Regions from separate parts of the Homo sapiens genome. Here region 2 is linked to region 1. The links are contacts of gene promoters, found by promoter capture Hi-C in blood cells and fetal thymus (Javierre and others, 2016). All regions are on one chromosome and are shown on one strand. The core of a region is centred on a gene start or on the middle of the fragment in contact, and the rest is flanking DNA. Distances in the headings are between cores, read along the strand shown.

What was found. Contacts are between HindIII fragments. The CHiCAGO score rates a contact against its expected background, and 5 or more counts as called.
Region 2: a fragment that was not itself captured here is called in contact with the fragment with the promoter of TEX35 in region 1 in 1 of 17 cell types (total B cells); the score reaches 5.3 in total B cells.

The regions. Positions count from the first base shown.
Region 1 is chr1:178,511,670-178,514,454 of GRCh38, forward strand. TEX35 (testis expressed 35) reads left to right here and starts at 1,440. Exons shown (of 9, transcript NM_032126.5): 1 at 1,440-1,558; 2 at 2,358-2,408. The coding sequence starts at 1,520. LOC101928866 (a long non-coding RNA gene) reads right to left here and starts at 1,381. Exons shown (of 6, transcript XR_001738307.2): 1 at 973-1,381; 2 at 407-613. The HindIII fragment of the contact is 3,272 bases long and covers 810-2,785 here.
Region 2 is chr1:179,053,999-179,056,783 of GRCh38, forward strand. It overlaps FAM20B (FAM20B glycosaminoglycan xylosylkinase), which reads left to right. Exons shown (of 8, transcript NM_014864.4): 4 at 531-640. Among named protein-coding and RNA genes, the nearest start is that of TOR3A, 27 kb to the right of the region's middle. The HindIII fragment of the contact is 5,323 bases long and covers 1-2,785 here.

The sequences.
Region 1 (2,785 bases), core at 190-2,689:
TGCTTGGCTAGAAGGCAGCTCATTTAACAACTGCTCAGCCAAGCAAGGGAAGCTCTACTGCAGGTCCAGGAGGCCCCCAAGCCAAAATTAGCAGAAGGAGGTGGGGCACATTTTCACGGGGCTGGTGGATGTTGAGATGGAGTCAGTCATTTTCACTGTAATTCCCTTAGAGGAAGGGCATTCCTACCACGAGGCCATCAGATCTGAGAGGGCTGAATTAAAAGGTCCAAGGAAACTGAAAAGTTCCAGCCCCTCATTTATAAGTGGGGAAAGTGAAGCCTGGGAAGCTGGTGACCACCCCCAACTCCCTCTCCTTCCGCTGATGCAGTGGCAGACACATTCTCCTCTGGCTATGGTGGAGTAAGACCCACAGCTGTCACCAGTGTCAGGGCTGGGAAATCACCACCTAGGAAATGCATCAGAAGTGCTGCAGGTGGCTCCAGAAGTTCCAGTGGCCTCCAGGAAGGATAGTCCCAAGCAGGTGTGTGAAATGGGAGGGTAAGTGTGGTCAGTAGTGGCCTGCATGGGGATGTCATTCACATGCAATTTGCATTAGTTCCTGTACTCCTGTGCTGTCTGTCCTCAGATGTCCATGTTGGCCTTTTCTGTGCAACTAGCAGTTGAAATGAGAGGGAAGAAGGAAGTGAATGACCAGTGATAAGAGGAAAAGAGAAATCAATTTCACCAACCCAGATCCCCAGTGATTTTTTATCCCATGGGGTGCCATGTTCCTCTGACTGTCTACTTTAGCACAAACTATGGCTACCCGCAGAATGGCCTTTTCTTTAGTATTCTTCATTTGCCCGAAAAGCTTCTTATCTTTAGCTTCTTGTCCCAACCCTCTTCCCGGATGATAGAAGAACTAGGAAAAGAGAATTTTTAGGTGGGCAGGGGTCTGGGGGTGGTTGTGGGACAGGGGCAGTGTGAGGTCAGAGGCATCAGAAACCATCCTGCTGAGACTGGCTACCCCACCTCATACAGAGTAACCCAGGTTAAGTGAGACGGTGCATGCACGTTGAACCAGAGAGACTTCATGGCATCCTCCAGCCCAAGGTGGCTTCCGGTCCGAGGTGGGGTCGGTTCGCGCGAGGAGCGCACAGCAGAGGACATGGGCTGTGCGCTCAGAGGAGGAGCTGGCTGTCCCTGGAGGACGTCCTTCTGAGTCAGTAGGTGAGTCCTGCTGCAGAAGGAGCCACTGCTTCTGACGCGTGCCTTGCACTTCGACCGTAGCAGGCCATGATCCTCCTCAGTGTGGACTTTCCTTCTGTTGCAAGAGGGAGGCCTGGTGGGACTCTGAAACCTGGCCTGAACCCCTCATCTCAGTGGCCGAAGCCCCCCAGGCCTGAAGCTGTGGTGACGCTCTGGACCACCATGTGGGTCCTGGCATTGTGACCTCAGCTGTTCCGTACACAAAGGGGTGGTCACCCTGCCCTCACCTTGACCTGTAAGTTGCCTAGGACAGTGGCCTGGTCCCAGGGGCTGTTGTGGGGAGTTGAAGAACACCCTGGCCTCCTCCATCATGTCGGCCAAGAGGGCAGAATTGAAGAAAACACATCTGGTAAAAGAGAGACATTGCTGGACAGTGTGGGTCCTCTCTGAGCTCCTACTGAATGGAGATGGTGTCGGGGCAAGGGATACAGAGAATGCTCGCATGAATCTCTGGTTTTTCTTTCTCTGTACTGAGCATAAAGCAGCCTCTCAGTCTGGAAGGGGTGTGGGATTAATCCCTAGCCTTGGGGGTGGGAAGGAAAGAGGCCTCTGCTGCCTCCCTCTGGGGATGAGGAGCACTGCCAAGGGAGCACTCCCTACTCCAAGACCACTCATGGTTCCACGGCCCATGCCAGGCCTGCCAGGCCCACATCTAACCAGCAGGGCTAAGGCTCAGAATAACCTTATTAGATAAATATAATCATCACGTCGATTTTATAGATGAGGAAATGGGGGCTCAGAGAGGCTAAGCAACTCACCCAAAATAACAGAGATAGTAGAGAGGTCAGCTGAGACTATAGTGCAAATCTGCCTATGGCCAAAGCCCTTGCTCTGGAAACAACACTTCCGGGGCTTGCTTCTAGTTATCTTAAAGTGCTTTCTCCACGCTGGCGCCTCCAGCAGGGAGAGGGCTGCCTGCCAAATAGGCAGACACACGCCCATAGGAAGAGGACAGCACGACAAGATGTGATTTGTTAGGAATCGGATCCGGGTGCTGCGGGGTCTGTGAGCCTGAGCTCAAGCCAGTTGGACAGGCAGGGTTGCATGGTTGTGGGGGGCAGGGGGCAGGGTTCCCGTGCAAGGGCCAGATGTTCTCCTCCCCAATCCTGATGTCTGCCAGCCTGAATCTCAGTCTCCTCTTTTTGCAGAGCAAGAACTACAAGGCAGTTTGCCTGGAATTGAAGCCAGAGCCGACCAAAGTAAGAAGCCCTTTTGAGGCCATGCAGGCAGCCAGGCCTGAGATCCATGGGGAAGTGACCAGGAGTCAGGGGTCATTTGCTGATCCTAGTGGCCAAGATTTGTCCCAGGTGCTGGGGGATGCACTGAGAGTTCTTGCTCTCATAGAACTTCACACTGTAACCAATCAGATACATAAACGAACAAGGACTCATTCAGCAGTGTTACCTGCTCTGCTGGGAATCAAGACAGGGAGACATGTCTGAGTGGCTGCCGTGGAGTGGGTGGTAGGGAAAGGCCTTCCTTTGAGCTGAGAGCTGAAGGACAAGACTCTGGCTTTGCAAAGGCAGAGTAAGAGCCTTCTAGGCAGAGGAGGCAGCATGCACTGAGGCCCAAGGTG
Region 2 (2,785 bases), core at 102-2,601, 540 kb after region 1:
CATTTTTTTAAAATAAATCATTGTTTTCAACCTTTTAGATTATTAGAGATATCTTCAAATGTCTCTATATTTAATTTGCTCTGTGGGCTTAGCCTTTTAGATCAGTCTGCTTTTTTTTTTTTAACCAACATGCTGTTTTATTTAAAGATTTGAACCCATATATGAGTTTGGGTCCCATTTTTTTTCTAATACTTTCCTAAAATCTATTTTTAATTTTTATTATGAAAAAATTTCTATCATACAAAAGTAGAAAGAATAGTATAATGAGCCCATATACCCACTCTGTAGATTTAAAAAGTGTTCACATTTTATCAGATTTGTCTTATTCTTTTTGCTGAAATGTATATTAAAATAAATTATACACACCTTCACATTAAATTCCTAAATATATGTACCTCTAAAAAATTAGGTTTAGCTACTAGCTAAAAACCCTTTACACATTTGACATGATGAACTGTAATTTTTAAGACTGTTACTTAAAAAACATCCCCTAAGATTTTTCTCTTCTGTTCTTCAATCTTCCAAACCAGGATTCTGGGTTTCCACCGAGCCCCCTTGGTAGTTGGCAGATTTGTTAATCTTCGGACAGAGATCAAACCTGTCGCCACAGAGCAGCTGTTGAGCACCTTCCTAACTGTAGGTAAGAAGATTGTAGAGGACATTTATATAGGGGAATGATTAATAAGTTAAAATGGGGCATTGTTGAGCAAGCTGGCTCATGACTTTTAGGAATTGAAGAACTCAGTGGAATACAAAAGCAAATCAGACAACCAGCTCTCAGGTTATTTGGGAAAATGAATCTAAAGGAGATGGCAGGAAATTGAAATTTTCCTGTATACTTTGTGTTGTCTGTGACATAGGGAGTGAGGTCATTTAGTGATGGTGAAAGCAGGTGATTATTTCCTTCTGCTTTCTCTTAGAGCTATTAGTAAGTCTCAAACTCAGAATTTGGCCTAAATTGGTTATTGTTTGTATATCATTGGCTCAGTTGTTTTTACATATATAATATGTTTCCTCAGGAACTGTCTCCCATCTCCTTAGAATTGAGGAAATCTTAAGGCAACTCTTTAGGAGGCTCAGAAATTATTTTGTAAGGTTGTATTTGGACCTGGAAGATCAACAGGCCTACTCCTTCTGCAAGGGTTAACCTATAACTCATTGTGCCTGGAACTGGCTATGTTGCCCCTGGCCTCTGTTTTCCATTATCTTAACTCTGAGGTAAGAGATCTGAGCTAAAATTCTCACTCCTGTTGTTGTGAGCAAGATGAGAATGGGAAGAATTCAAAAGTGCGGTGGTTTCTTGTTTCCACCTCTTCACCTTGACTCTTTTTCAGTGATACAGTGCTCTGCATTAGGGCATGACTGTTGAAACAGACATTGCAAGATGAACTTCACCTTGCTTTTTTTTGCTAGAGTGAGTGGATTTACATTTAAAATGAGGAAAAACTGAATATTTAAAGGACTTATGACAGATTCATCATTCAGAATTTCAACTTATAAGGCTTGGGCTATACTTTTCTTATAGATAACCAAAAGCATACAATGTTAGATATTGTATCAGATATTTGTTTCAGATATTTTCTAATCACCTTTGGTTGTTCAGTTTTATGTTTAGCAAGCATGAATTCCTGGTGGGTGCTGGGATTGAGGGAAAGAGTCCAAGAAGAAGAAGCCAGGGTACCTGCTCTTCAAAGGCTCACAGATGGTCAACTCACACATTGTATGAAGTGTGGGTAAGGGAAAAGCAGAGGATTTGTAGAGGAGGTTATTAACACTTGAACTGAGTATTGAAGAACCAGTATGAGTTACCAAGGCAGCAAAGAGGAAAGGGCATTGGCAAAATAATGGGAATATTAATGAGAACAAGGGCATAAAGACTGGAAAGTAATAGGTAGAGGGATTTGGCTGGAGGTAAAGTTCTTAATAATCGTCTGACCTTAGCATAACCTTGTTGTTATTGTTGTGTTTTTAGACTTTATTGTTTTTAGAGCAGCTTTAGGTTCACAGCAAAACTGAGAGGAAGGTACAGAGATTTCCCAAATAACCGCTGCCCGTCACATGCATAGTTTCCCCCATTATCAACATCTCACATCACAGTGGTACAGTTGTTACAATTGATGAGTCCACACTGACACATCATAATCACCCAGACTCCATAGTTTACATTCCCATTCACTCTTGGTGTTGCACATTCTGTGGGTTTGGACAAATATATAATGACATGTATACATCATTATAGTATCACACAGAGTATTTTCACTGATCTAAAAATCCTCTATGTTCCACCTATTCATCATTCTCCACCCCTCTCTCCAATCCCCTTGCAACTACTGATCTTTTTACTGTCTGCATAATTTTGCCTTTTCCAGAATGTTACATAGTTGAATCACAGTATATAGCTTTTTCAGAGTGGTTTCTTTCACTTAATAATACACATTTAAGATTCCTCCATGTCTTTTCATGCATGGCTTGATTTATCATTTCTTGTTATTGCTGACTAATGTTCCATTGTCTGATGTACCACAGTTTATCCATTTACCTATTGAATGGCATCTTGGTTGCTTCCATGTTTGGGCAGTTGTGAATAAAGCTGCCATAAACATCTGTGTATAGCTTTTTGTATTGACATAAGTTTTCAGCTCTTTTGGGTAAATACCAAGGAGTGTGATTTCTGGATCATATAGTAAGAGTACATTTAGTAAGAAACTGCCAAATTGTCTTCCAAAGTGGCTGTACCATTTTGCATTCCCACCAGCAAAGAGAGAGTTCCTGTTGCTCCTCATCC